5 separate regions of the Homo sapiens genome follow, and all the other regions are linked to region 3. The links are contacts of gene promoters, found by promoter capture Hi-C in blood cells and fetal thymus (Javierre and others, 2016). All regions are on one chromosome and are shown on one strand. The core of a region is centred on a gene start or on the middle of the fragment in contact, and the rest is flanking DNA. Distances in the headings are between cores, read along the strand shown.

What was found. The method cuts DNA at HindIII sites, captures the fragments that hold promoters and counts their contacts. A CHiCAGO score of 5 or more calls a contact.
Region 1: a contact is called between the fragment with the promoter of MDH1B here and the fragment with the promoter of KANSL1L in region 3, in 7 of 17 cell types (total CD8 T cells, naive B cells, total B cells and 4 more). The highest score is 10.6, in total CD8 T cells.
Region 2: a contact is called between a fragment that was not itself captured here and the fragment with the promoter of KANSL1L in region 3, in 1 of 17 cell types (total B cells). The highest score is 5.1, in total B cells.
Region 4: a fragment that was not itself captured here is called in contact with the fragment with the promoter of KANSL1L in region 3 in 1 of 17 cell types (neutrophils); the score reaches 7.8 in neutrophils.
Region 5: a contact is called between the fragment with the promoter of KLF7 here and the fragment with the promoter of KANSL1L in region 3, in 2 of 17 cell types (fetal thymus and monocytes). The highest score is 7.2, in fetal thymus.

Annotation. Positions count from the first base shown.
Region 1 is chr2:206,763,971-206,766,670 of GRCh38, forward strand. MDH1B (malate dehydrogenase 1B) reads right to left here and starts at 1,358. Exons shown (of 12, transcript NM_001039845.3): 1 at 1,280-1,358. The coding sequence starts at 1,301. FASTKD2 (FAST kinase domains 2) reads left to right here and starts at 1,636. Exons shown (of 12, transcript NM_001136193.2): 1 at 1,636-1,777; 2 at 2,674-2,700. RefSeq lists enhancers at 1,137-1,276, 1,527-1,906. The HindIII fragment of the contact is 1,569 bases long and covers 846-2,414 here.
Region 2 is chr2:214,814,021-214,816,720 of GRCh38, forward strand. All of the region lies in intron 1 of SNHG31 (small nucleolar RNA host gene 31), which reads left to right. Among named protein-coding and RNA genes, the nearest start is that of SNHG31, 5.1 kb to the left of the region's middle. The HindIII fragment of the contact is 208 bases long and covers 1,225-1,432 here.
Region 3 is chr2:210,170,090-210,172,789 of GRCh38, forward strand. It overlaps KANSL1L (KAT8 regulatory NSL complex subunit 1 like), which reads right to left and starts at 1,320. Exons shown (of 15, transcript NM_152519.4): 1 at 1,060-1,320. RefSeq lists enhancers at 345-979, 407-586, 980-1,615, 1,616-2,249 and silencers at 777-1,086, 1,207-1,536. The HindIII fragment of the contact is 7,802 bases long and covers 1-2,700 here.
Region 4 is chr2:206,080,816-206,083,515 of GRCh38, forward strand. All of the region lies in intron 1 of INO80D (INO80 complex subunit D), which reads right to left. Among named protein-coding and RNA genes, the nearest start is that of INO80D-AS1, 2.5 kb to the right of the region's middle. RefSeq lists enhancers at 1,170-1,959, 2,656-2,700. The HindIII fragment of the contact is 2,066 bases long and covers 379-2,444 here.
Region 5 is chr2:207,164,591-207,167,290 of GRCh38, forward strand. KLF7 (KLF transcription factor 7) reads right to left here and starts at 1,358. Exons shown (of 4, transcript NM_003709.4): 1 at 877-1,358. The coding sequence starts at 978. MIR7845 (microRNA 7845) reads left to right here and starts at 1,810; the gene lies at 1,810-1,908. RefSeq lists enhancers at 1-368, 970-1,069, 1,077-1,785, 1,786-2,493, 2,494-2,700 and a silencer at 1,560-2,199. The HindIII fragment of the contact is 8,010 bases long and covers 1-2,700 here.

The DNA of each region.
Region 1 (2,700 bases), core at 108-2,607, 3.4 Mb before region 3:
TGACTTCCCACCATGTGGTTAGTCAGTGTTCAAAAATATTCTTCTGGGCCAGGTGTGGTGGTGCATGCCTGTAATCTTGGCACTTTGGGAGGTCAAGGTGGGCAAATCACTTGAGCGTAGGAGTTCAAGACCAGCGTGGGCAACATGACAAAACCCCATCTCTACAAAAATACAAAAATTAGCTGGGCATGCTGGTGTATGCCTGTAGTCCCAGCTACTTGGGAGGCTGAGGTGGGAGGATCGCTTGAGCCCAGGAGGTCAAAGCTGCTGTGAGCCACGATTGCACCACTGCAATCCAGCCTGGGTGACAAAGTGAGAGCCTGTCTCAAAAAAAAAAAAAAATCTCCTGTGGATGGTAGATGTCAATTGTGTTCAATGCATCAAAGAGATCAAATAAGTCAAAGACTAAACAGCTTCTATAAAAGTCAGTGGTGACTTTGGTGACAGCAGTTTCTGTCAGGAAGCAGAAGTAGAAGCCTTCTTCCAAGACTGATTGGAAGGCAGAACTGGAGATGGAAGAGCAGTCTACTCTTTTAAGAAACTTTACGAGGAGAGGAGGTAGGTACCATGGATTGTTGTAATAAAAGCCTTCTCAGTTGAGTCCTTGCTGTCAACCAGCACTTTCAATCATTCTCTCCGTTGCTGCCAAGACAGGCTTCCTAAAATGCAAACTCATTAAGACTACTCTCCTGCTTAAAATTTTTCTATAATTCCTCATTGCTTTCAGGATACAGTTCAAACACCTTTGCTTGACCTACATGAAATGCAAGGACCTGGCTCCTGCTCCTGTTGTAGCCCCAGGTCCTGTCACGCCCCACATATCCAGATCTTCTGTTAGGCCAGGAAGCTTCCTGCCTCTCTGCTTTTATTTGGAATAGCCTCCTCAGCTCACACCTTCACAACTCAGCTCCTGTAATACCTTCCCCAGCCAGTTCCTTGTGTCCACCTCTCCCTCATCCCCCAAACCCAGATTAGGAGTCTACGCTCCCAGAGGCCTGTGCAGGTCTCCTTCATCGCGTTAATCACACCGTATCAAAAGTACATGTTCTGTGCCCCATGAGACTGAAAGCTCCTCTAAGGCAGGGATATGTTTCCCTCCATTGCATCCCCAGTGTCCCACAATGCTTGGCGCACCGTCACGGTCCAGTAAAAAACTTTGAATAAATCTATAGCAAAGCATGGAGCGGTCCGTATAGAGGCTGCCAAGCCGAGCGGCCATGGGAGGTGAGCTGTTGTCGGCGTTTTGAGCAATCTGCGGGCGGACGCGGGGATCACTCACCCGCGATGACGAATTTGGCCATGGTCGAGAGAGACTCAGAGGCAGGGACCGCGGCTTCGCGGTTTCCTGGCAACCACGCAGCCAAGGGCAAGGCGCAGGCGCACTACAAAGTCTGGCGCCCAGCAGAGGTTAGGTGTTTAAAGTTAGGACCTGAATGGGTTACGTTGCGATACACGATCAAACATCGCCCTTATAAGCTCTGTGGTATCCCCGAGCCCCACTCCTGTATGCAGGGAAATTAGTCATTCTCCTTGGTAAACTTTCTTCAAGTAAGTCCTTCAGCTACAGCCGCGAACATATGCTTTTTGACCTTTGAGGGAATCCGTAAGATCTCGTGAGAAGCGCAGCTTCTCGGGGAAGCTGTCATGGCTGCTCCTGTACGTAGTCACGGTCTTGTGCTCTAAGGTGAGTGGAGGACGAGCTTGGGCTTAGCGGCAGCCCGTATCACATCCTAGACTTTTTACTTCGAGGAGAAGAGTCTCACGAGTTGTCCTGGAAGTAAGTTTAAAGGAGGTGGGTTAATGCTGGGCGGCCCAGCTGCGGAAGGACAGGCTCTTGAAGTTGGTTCTGGGGTCTGGTGAGGCTGGCTGGTTGTATAAGATCTTCCTCTTAAGCGCAGGCCACGTGCAGACATCGCTTTCGTTTTCTGCTTCTTCCACTGAGCCGTTCTACCTGCCCAGGTCCCTATTCTTGATGGTCTGGGTTCGGCCGTTGCTAAATCGTCATGTTGAAAATGATCTATCAGCCGGGCGCGGTGACTCACGCCTTGGGAGGCCGAGGCGGGTGGATTACCTGAGGTCAGGAGTTCAGGACCAGCCTGGCCAACATGGTGAAACTCCGTCTTTACAAAAAATACAAAAATTAGCCGGGCGTGGTGGCATACGCCTGTAATCCCAGCTACTTGGGAGGCTGAGACAGGAGAATTGCTTGAACCTGGGAGGTGGAGGTTGCAGTGAGCCAAGATCGCGCCACTGCACTCTAGCCTGGGGGACATAGCAAGACTTTGTCTCAAAAAAAAAAAAAAAAAAAAAAAAAACAGAGAAGAGAAAAGAAAATGATCTATCAATGCTAATCCCCTAATTTTCACCGAGGACATTTCCATAACAATGCCAACAAAAGTCTCTCCTACAGAGAAAGCTTTATGGAACGCTTTTGCACCAGAAAAATCTCATTAATACAATGACTACTTCCAAAGTGACCTGGCTTCTTTGAAACTGGACACATTGTGGTAGATTGGAGGGAGCCCACATTGGTAAAAAAAACTTTTACTGTTTTATGTAAATGTTTAATGGCTCCATAGGTTCCCCATTTTCTCTTCTGTTAAATGCATTTCATTTCTTTAAGTAAAAGTTTTGTTTTAATTTTTATTCTTTTCATTACTTCTTCCCCTACAGGAAAACGACAGCACGTGTTCTTTTTCA
Region 2 (2,700 bases), core at 79-2,578, 4.6 Mb after region 3:
GTTCTGCAGGGAACTCCAGCCATCAGCAGGGTCTCAGTAAAGCCATGGTTTAGGACATGAACAATGTCCTCTTCTTCTCACTTTAAAAAGGGCTAAATGGTATCATTTCTTTTTCAGAGTTTTCCCTGCAAGGACCTCCTGTGTACATAAAAGTTTAGACTTGTTGCTCCATTTCACTCCTAGTCTGTTCTCTTCCTAGTAAGCAGTATTCCCAAGTATCCTAGACTCAAAATCATCCATCCCTCCCCCACTGTAACACTGTAGTCCTGGGTGGATTCTGAGGCATGCAGATAAGCTTGCTTCAGCCTTATTTACCTATCCTCCTCTCTCCAGGCCCACTTAAACCCTCATCCCCCCGACTGCTTCAGTTACCCTCTGTAGTGTTACCATGCTATGAAGGCATCTCCAGCCTTGAATTCTTTTCTGATCTTCAGGCTTATATAATGGTTTGTTGAAAACAGTCAAAATGCTGTTTTCTCTTCTGTTGTGTTATGAAGTGTTTTACAAAGAGGTAAATCTTCCTCATATTCACTTGGATAAACATATATAACAAGCAAAATGGGATATCCATAATACCCAGACTCTACTCCCAAGGAGTGTAAAGATATCTCACAAATTCTTACCTTTATATTAATTCTTCTCTGATTTTTAATTATGGTATTATGCACTGGAAAAGGCCACTTCGACTTCCTGAGAGCATTCTTTTTGTCAGATACAAATTTTGTTTGCAAGCACCCCTCTATGAAGTGTAGTCCCCCCACAAAAAAATGTAGTTTGAAACATTTGATAAGGAGCAATTGAATATGGTAATTGATGGAATAGAGCAGACCATCCCAGCATCTAGGACTGTGGTGTGTGCTGTGCACATTTGACTGAGCTTGCCTTTATATGATGCTATTAAGGTAAAGTCATATGCTTTGTGCTGTTTTTTTTTCTGAAATTCAATGTGGCGTAATGATTAAGTACACGGTGATCTGGAGTCAAGCAGAACTGAATTATAAACCTAGCCTTGACATTTCCTACAATTTTGTCCATTGTGTAACCCATCTTGGAACTTAGTTTCATCTTTTGTAAATTTAGGGTTAATATATGTCAATCTCATACTCAAAGGGTTGTGGTGAGAAAGGAATTACAGTTTATGAAACTGTCCTAAACCAGAAGTGCAGCACAACCAATGGACATCCCTTTGCAATGGACTGTCCTAAACTTTAATATATATATTAAAGCTTAAAACACAATAAGTGCACAACATATTTTTCCATTGTTAGGACTGGCATTGTTGAGTTGCATGAAGCCAGCTACACTGGCTTATGATTTCTCCTATGAAAGAGTACATATTCTAAGCAAAGAACCACTTATTCTGTGGCTATTGGAACAGAGATACTTGCAGTAGCAATTCCTATGCAAATATAATGCAATCACCTGGAAAGGAAGCTTAAATCCTATTTACTGATTATAGTCTCTTTTAGTATCATCTCAGATAAAGTATCCACCTGATTCCTAACACCATCGTTGGCATAATATTAGGACGTGACAATGAAAATGTTTATAATTTTGTTTCATTAACTTAAACATCTTTTATTTACATCATTTTGTTGCTCATTTAAGAACAAAAAAAAGCCTAAGCAATTAAAAACAGTAATTTTGTCCTACGTACTAGAGACAGCATATATGAAGCAAACAAACCACCCATGAATATCATGATTAATGTGTATTTCAATCAGTTCAATTGTGTGTATATGTATTGATCAAGTTATTGGCTGCAGTGTACTGTACTGAACCGTTTTAGCATGCCACAGTCTCTTTGACTAGTACATACCAACTCAGTCCCTATGTCATGTACACCTTGGCATTTAGTTTAGAATTACCCAAGTCTCTAGAAGCATCTAGATATTTTAAGATTGTTTTTGAAAGGATGTTAACTCCATTCTTGTGGGCACCTGCCAAATTTCTGTCACAGGCTTAAAAGTAACTAGTCTAAGGACATAGTTACATTACTATGACCCCACAGTAGTTGTTTTAAAGGTTTTGGTATCTTCTGTACTTCCTGATCATTTATCAAATTCAGTCTGACACACATATTTCACTGGTCATTGTTTTTTGTTCAATAGACTTCAGAGTTCAGCCCATTCCACTGCCTTTTATTGCTTGCTATTTTTAAGGAGACACCTCAGTAGAAATCCTCTTTTTCTGTACAGTGTAATTACTGAAGCACATAAAGTGGTTATAACAGGAATTTATCACTTTCAGGTGGAAATACTCCCAGCCAAATAAAAGATAGAGTAGGAATGCCAGAAGCAATTTATAACAGGCTCACTGACATTTTGTGTTGAGAAGCTCTACCACTGAATAAGCATCAAGTCATAAATCTCTGTAAACGTGATTAAAGCAAGCAAGTTATACTTTGAGGGGATACTATAATAAAAGGATGCTGTGATGCAAAGCAGGAAAATTCTGTTGACAAAAATCACCAAAAACAGCTGTCAGTAAAATTTACAAACAGCTTGTTTTAAATTCTGTTGGATTCTAGCAGCTGTTTGTTTGCACATAAAATGTTCATTTAGGAAATGAGCATTGGCCCTAGTTTGGGTTCCATTGTGTTTCAAAATTCTGTAATCAGTTTAATCAAAATTCATGCAATAATTTAAATTTCATTCAAAGCACAAGTGAGAAGTAACCAATATATTTAAATATGCCTCA
Region 3 (2,700 bases), core at 70-2,569:
CAATACTGAATTATTTTTAGAGTCATTTTTTCCTAGTCAGAAATTGCCAGTTTTGTCTGCAGTGCTCACTTCACTTAGGTTTTGTGGCTAACAAACCTGCCCCATCCAGCAATATTTAAAATTATTACTGACCCAAACTCAGATGAAGTTAAGCAAACTGGCTAAAGACGAAGGAAGTTTGTCTCCTAAACCTCGCCAGAACATGAATGTCCTGAAGTTTGGGGAATCAAAAACGGAATGTGCTTACCACAGTTCAAACAAAAAAACAAACAAAAACGGACTCTCCCAGAGTAAGAAAACATTACAAGAACGTCCATCCAGTGCCTGCCCTCCCGACTGCAAAGCCAGCCTCTTTCCTTTCCTGTGGTTTCTGAAACGGCCAGGATACCGCCTGGTATTTCTTGCTACCAAACACCACGCAATCTGACTTTTTCCAGCAAGACCGGTCCCTTCCTCAGCACACCGGTGACACAAACTTGGAAGCACCGTCCCTCAAAAATCCCCTAGATTCTGCTCTATCCCATCTAACTCTAAAGCCCAAATCTACGTTTTCCTGAAAGAAAGTGTGAAATAAATAAAATAGGGGTCTCATCAAATCCAGTGGGCTCCGCCTCAGAGCCGCCTCAAAAGAGCCGTCACCACACCCCCAATGGGTGAGGCTCAGCCGATGAGGCAAGAGGCGGGTCCAGGAAACCACGTGTTCTGCCTTCTGCGCACGCGCCAGCCAAAACAAAAGGGAGGTCTGCCAAGCCCCACCCCCCACGTGACCGGCGTCCAGGTCCGCCCCCACCCCTCCCTAGACCCCTTCCCTCCCCAGCTGCCAAGGCTGTTAGGTTTAGCCGTTTAAATTTGGCTGCGGTCAGACCCCCGCCCTAGAGCGCGATCCCGTGCCGAGACCAGAGTCCAGCAGCCCAGAGGATTCGGGGGGCGAAGGGGCTGCCGGTCGGTCGCCTGACCCGCAAGTCCACCCGGCAGTCTTCTCCCCTCCCCGCGCTGCCGCCGTCCCCAAGAGGGAAGACCCACCCCCGTCATCCCGCCGCTGAGACGCCGGCCACTCGCCTGCTGGGGCGCCCTGGCTCCCCTCCGCCGCCGCACCTTCGGTCCGGCCGTGGTGGGGGCTGCTGAGGTGATCTCTAGCTGCCCGCCCGCCTCCCCCACCCGGGGCGCCGCTGACTCGTCTCCAGAGCGCGCCCCGCTCCCGCCCCGGCCGCCGCCGCCGCCGCCGCCGCCGCCGCCGCCGCCGCCGCCGCCGCGGTTTAACAGTCCGCCCGCTGCCCGCAGCTCCGTGCGGCTCGGGGGGACGGAACCCTGCCGCGGTCTGGGAGCAGTGGGCGGGGCCCGGCGCTAGCCAATGGCAACGGGGGAGGGGCAGCGCCATGCAAATGAAGCGGGTGGCGGGGAAACCCCGGCAGGGGGCGGGGCCTGCAGAAGCGGCTCGGAGTGTTCTGGAAGTGGCAGGAGCACGACTCCCTTAACTCTGGTGCAGGGTTTACCTCGGCTCCCTCGGGACGGGTTCCGTGCAGCTCCTGCTTCCTCCCTTCTCTTTCCCAGTGCCATCCCTGGCGAGGGGGAAAAAAAAAAACACGGCCAGGAGACTTCCCACCCCTGCTTTGCTATTTTTGTACCTCCGTGACAGAAAAACAAAACCCTGAGGAAAAGTCAGGCGACTTCATTCCCTGCCGTCCGCGCCGGGGCCTCGACTACTGCTGGCGTCCGCGGCTTTCGCCCGCCGCTCCACAGGCGAGTTTTAAGAGATTTCTCACAATTGTCAAGTCCGCAAGTCTCCGTGCGTTTGCTTTTATTTGGGCCGTGCGTTCAAATGCGCTCATAATTCTTTCTGACCCTCAGAGGGGCCCTGAAGTAGGTGACAAATTTGCCTTGGATCCAACTGGGTGGTTTTATGATTAAAAAAAAAAAAACAGACAAAGCAGTTTTAAGTCTCTACAAATCTGGTTTGAGTGGCGCTGGACCTAACTCCCCTCTGCAGTAACGCTGTCAAATAAACAAACGGAGTTTATGTGGAGATAGTTGGCCAGCGACACCCAAAAACACTTCTGAGCGTCTTGCACCTGGCCCCGCGAACCGCTCACCACAAAACAAACCTGCACCTGGGCACTTCCCCAGCCAAGAACTCGATTTTTTTAAAACTGAACTCTAAATGTAGCTTCTTAGATGTTGTATCACAGTCTTTCCTAAGCACCGAATTTACACATGAAATGATTTAAGGAACGAAGAGCACTAGGCTTTTTAAGCCAGAAGGATAATAGCCATTATTTTAACCTTATCAATTGGATAAGATCCCGGGGGCGGAAGAGGGGAGAAATCCAAGGAATTGCAGTCATAACAAAGCGTAATCCGTAACATAGATAACTGGAATTGGAAAATTAGCTACTCGTTCCTGGTTCTTCTAGTAGATTGTGATATTACTGAAATAATTTTTATGACCAGCTGCATTTATTGGAGCTATATTTTTTTAATTACTGAATAATTGCACCTCGATATGGGGCAAGGGAAGAATTTTAGGAAATTGATTTACTTTCATTGTAATAAAAATTGTAAGCTAATGATGTGTTGTGAAAAATAATTAAATCAGTAAGTATTTATTGGATATTTACCATATTCAAAGGACTGTCCTAGTCCCTGGGGACAGAAATGCAAAAATGAATAAAGTATTTTTTAAAGTTTTGTTTTTTTAATTAG
Region 4 (2,700 bases), core at 162-2,661, 4.1 Mb before region 3:
TGGCGTGAACCCGGGAGGTGAAGCTTGCAGTGAGCTGAGATCGTGCCACTGCACTCCAGCCTGGGCGACAGAGTGAGACTCAGTCTCAAAAAAAAAAAAAAAAAAAAAAAAAGAATATTAAAAATCTTTAGAAAAAAATAGAAAAGTTATGCACCAGAAAAAGTTATGCACCAAGAAAATATAAAGGTTATGCTTCAGGAACCATTCTAAAGGCTTTATGTTCAATTCCTCATTTAGTCTTCACAGCAACCCTATGAAGTAGGTACTATTATTACCCCCTTTTACAGACGAAGAAAACTGAGACTTAATCAGATTAAGTAATTGTCATTATCCAAGGTCACACAGTCAGGATGCAAGGCCTATTTGCTCCAGAGCCCAAGCTTTTAACCAATACAAAACGACACAACTACCATTACATGGACAATCCTACCCTTACGTTTTTCCTCTTTGTTTCTGCTGTATGCATACACATAAAGAGAAAAAGCACACGAAAGTGTTAAACAGTGGTTATCCTTTGAGTGGGAAAAACAGGTCTACTCTCCAAATATAGCATAAGCCTACTATAGTATGTATAGTACAGTATTACTTTCAGTTATTTAAAAAAGGAAACAAGAGAAATAGTATTTAGATGTTACTACTAGAAAAGTAAGGTGGAGGCCAGGCCTGGTGGCTCACACCTATAATCCCAGCACTTGGAAAGACTGAGGCAGGCGGATCCCTTGCATCCAGGAGTTTGAGACCAGCCTGGGCAACATGGGGAAACCCTGTCTCTACAAAAAATACAAAAATTAGCCAGGCATGGTGGCAAGCACCTGTAGTCCTGGCTGACTACAGGCACACCTGAGGTGGGAGGATCACTGGAGCCCAGGAGGTTGAGGCTGCAGTGAGCTGTAATCATGCCACTGTACTCCAGGCTCGACAACAGAGTGAGACCCTGTCTCAAAAAAAAAAAAAAAGAAAGAAAGAAAGAAAGAAAGAAAAGTAAAGTGGGCTAGTGGAATTAACATTTAATTAATACTATTATGGGCCAAACACATGGCTATCTCATCTAACCCTTATATCAAAGAATTTTATTCCCATTTTAAGTTAAAGAAACCAAAGACTAAATAACTTGCCCAGCGGAAGGACTGGGATCAGAACTCAAAGCCCAGTCTAAAGGTGTCACTGCAGGAAGTCATGCTACAAATAAAATTTCACCAAAAACTCATCTTTTATTTTTTTTGAGATAGAGTTTTGCTCTGGTTGCCCAGGCTGGAATGCAATGGTGCAATCCTGGCTCACTGCAACCTCCGCCTCCCAGGTTCAAGTGATTCTCCTGCCTCAGCCTCCAGAGTAGCTGGGATTACAGGCATACACCACCACGCCTGGCTAATTTTGTATTTTTAGTAGCGACGGGGTTTCTCCATGTTGGTCAGGCTGGTCTCGAACTCCGGACCTCAGGTGATCCGCCCGCCTCAGCCTCCCAAAGTGCTGGGATTACAGGCGTGAGCCACCACGCCCGGCCTAAAAACTCATCTTAAAAACAAATCACATTCTGTGAAAGGATGAGAACCAAGTAGTCTGTCACCTTACGTGCAAGGAGGGAAAAGAGGGAGGCTTAAGGTTTTAAATTGAGTATTTCCTCAGTATCTCAAACTAGCCAGGAGCATTGTCAAAAATCAGCCTTTACAGTCAGGACTTCTGGGACAAACTCTTGCTTGAAGAAGTGAGGAGACTCTATTGCTGTTTGTTTTGCCTAGCACAGAGCTGCATGTGTAAGTTAAACTGACTTAGCACTGGGGACAATTTGCTGCCTCCAACCCAGTCTCACCTATTCAACCATTGTTTTACCAGTTACCAGGTGTGGGGGAGGGGGAAAGAAAAGTGTCTGAGAATATTGCTCTAACTGTATTCAAATATAAATGACTTTTCATTAGCCATAACCATTGTACCAAACCTGGATAGTGAGAGCTGCTAACCCTCAGAGAACATCTCAGGTATGAATAAATAGTTTAGCATTTTTTTGAAATGTCATTAATTTTGGGTGCTCTCAGAAATGTTTAATTCCTTCTAAACTAAAATTTTTATTTCTCTAAAAATAGTAGCAACATGATTTGCTGAGAAAAAGTTGGAATGGGATATACAAATTTCCTCCTAAAAATCTTCCAGAGGAAAGAAAACTTGATTATTTCAGACTTGTAATTATACTAACCATTTACTTTTTAAACTAACACTTAATAATAAAAAAGCATATTCCCTTAGTAGTTTAAAGTTAATTCAGTATTTGCCCTGAAAATCTTTTATTAATTTCAAATGGAATGTAACTTTTAAAAACATCAAACCTGTCATTCCTTCAGGAAATAAAGTAGCCCATTAGGCGATCAGGTTAGGAAATTAATACATGTTTGAGGTAGGGTGGGAAAAAGTACAAAACTTTTTTGGTATTTGTACACATAGTTTTGGAAAGCTTAGGAATGTGAAGTCAACAATATACCTTTAAAATATCAAATTATAAGGCAATAACAATTTTTTTCAAACCTTAAAATGTTCCAAGAAAAATGACTAAGAATGATTTTTTTCCATCCAGTATATGCTCTAAAAATAAGGACAAACTATAATAGAAGTAACGATTTTTGGTACACATGTTTAAAAAAATGTCCATGTCAATAAACAATTTCAATTAATCAATAAACTTAAAACAACCATTAAATGTAATTTGCA
Region 5 (2,700 bases), core at 108-2,607, 3.0 Mb before region 3:
TGAACTTGTCACCAGCCCCACTTCATCCTCCCTGGGACGGCTAGCCAACTTGGCATCGGTGCCCTTCAGCATCCTGGGAGTTTCTTAACTAGTCCTCTAAGACAAAGTCAAAGGCATGGAAGCACACATCAGCCTTTGTCCGAGGTTGTGCTGCCTAACTAGAGAAGGACCCTAAACAAAAAAGAGAAACAAGGACACGCATAGAGGGTGTTCTCTTTCTGGAGGGATCACACTGGGAAAACCTACAATTCATTGTCAGCCTCAGCTACATCTTCCCGTCCTCCTTGAGTATCTTTTGTCAGTGGGCTCTTCTCTCTTTTGCCTACCTTCTAATCTCAAAATCAAGCTCCTATTCTTTATTGACACTCGCTAATTACTGAAAAACACTCCGCTTTGCTCCTGCCCACCCTCCCCCGCCCCCCATCCGATGGTCATAAGCACCAGTTGAAACAGATGAACCTGATTTCAGGTATCAAGTGGGTAGAGCTCATGCATGCGAGAACGTGGTCCCTGTCAGCAATCGCTCCTAACACCCCAAACCACCTTCCCACCCGGCTCCTCCGAACCCCAGAAGTTCGGCAGGTCTCTGATAGGGGACAGCAAACCCGACAACGTGTGCGCAGGGATGTGTGTTGGCGACTGAAACGCAGGCAGCTCGCACCGGCTGCTCAGCTCGGCACTCTACGAGGTTAGGGGTGGGTGGAGAGGTAAGCGCAGATGACTGTTTCAGAAAACATTTTCAACAACAGACAGCCAAAAAGGAAGAAAAAAAAGTCAAACAAACAAACAAAAATTTCAACCCAGAGCCCACACCAACGCAGCCCCTGCGTCTCCGCCGCCACCACACGATTTACACAAGTAATTTAAATCATTCACCTGCTGCCAGGTCTCCTCCAGGGATGGTAAAGCTGAGAAGTAGCCGGTGTCGTGGACAAGTTGTAGCTCCTGGAATATACTATAACTAGCCAACACGTCCATGCTGCTGCTGCCGGGCAAAACGGGAGGCGAAACCCTCCCCCGAACACAGTTGGGGCTGTTTGTTTGTCAGTCTGTCTGGCTCACCCCCCAAGAAGGCAGACATCCAGTGGCCCTTTTGTTTTGTTTTGTTTCAGTCAACTAAAAAGGAAAAAAAAAAATCAATGCAGGAGAGGGAGAGAGGAGGTGAGAGAGGAGCGAGTGAGTGGGGTGGATGGAGAGAGGCATCCAGCGTGTACAGTGCAGACGACTGCCAGGAAAAGGGGACTTCTCCACGGGAGTAACAATTCCCTTCCAGGGCTCTAATCACTCCAGCTCGTGGATCAGGAAGGGGGATGCAAACTCACTGACACGAAGCTGCCATCTATTTCTGCAGCGCTGTTCGCTCCTAATGCAATCTTTGCTCTTTATTTTGGGAGGTTGCATTTTTTTCTCTCGCGATCGCTTCTCTTCCCCCCCCTTCCCTTCCCTCCCCACCCCCCACCCCATCCTTGCTAGTTTGTAGTCTTCCCCCTCCCTTTTCTCCTCCTCCTGCTCTTCCCCCTCCCCAAACTCCCTCCCTCCGTTCGGTTCTCCGCGCAGCCGTGGGATCTCGAGGAGGGCGTCCATTAGGCCGCGTGTGACCATGTAAGGTAAACAGGGGGCTCATGAAGTCACTGAGGACCAATGGGGAGCCCGGAGCAGAGCCTGGGGCGGGGCTTGGCCCTGGCGGCGGGCGCGGATTGGCACGCTGCGGATCTCCCTGCTGCCTTACAAGGCGGTGCGAGGCGAGCTATTTTTAGAGGGCTATATAAGGGGGCTGAGGCGGCCGCCCGGCGGCCGGGCAGCGCGAGCGCAAGGGACAGGGAGGGTCGTGGCGACACTCGCGCCAGCTCCCGGGACGGCTGGGCTCGGGCTGGTCGCCGACCTCCGACCCTCCACTAGATGCCTGGCAGAGCCCGGCGCGTCCGGAGCCCGCGCCCCTCAGAGGGAAGGGGTCGCGCGTCGCCGCGGCGGCCCTGAGGCTGACGGTCGGGAGGTGAAAGGCCGGAGTGCGGGGTCAGGACGCCTCCTGGAGGGGGCGCGGCGCAGGGGGCCGCGGGGAAGCCGCCGAGGGCGCGGAGCGGGAAGGAAGGACAGTGGCCACCCCGCCTCCGCCTGGGCACGGGGCAGGGACCCGCGCGAGGCGGTGCCGGGGAGGTCCTCACGTACTCAAAAACAAGCAGAAAAGGCATCCAGGGCCCCTTCCCGAACTCCCCACGGGCTGCCAGGGTGCAGAGAAGAAGCGCCTGAGGAGGAAGTGCCACACAATGGGAGAGAACAAAGGGGAGCGGAGCGAGACCGCGGCCTGCGCCCGCCCCCCGCTTGCGCACAGTCCCCGCCCCGCCCCGCGGGCGCCGCCGCCGCCGCCCTCCCTCCCGCGCCTCCTTCTGACCCCGAGCGAGAGACCTGGTCGGGAGTCCGGCGGCTAGAGTTGATTGCAAGGGGCCTGTTGCTCGACTGTGCGTTAAAGAGGCTAGAGGGAGCCTAGGTAGACGTGGGGCGCAAGCTGGAGCCGGCAGCTTGCGAGGGGGCCTTTACGTGATGAGGCTCACCATGGGGTCTCCAGCGAGGTGTCTGCAGAGCTTCGATGGTGAGAGGAGGAACTCGATTTCTCGTTTTCTGGAGTTGGGATGTAGACATAGAGAGATCTGTTACATCTGAGATGAAAACCCTGCACAATTCACGTTAGGGTTGGCCAATTGT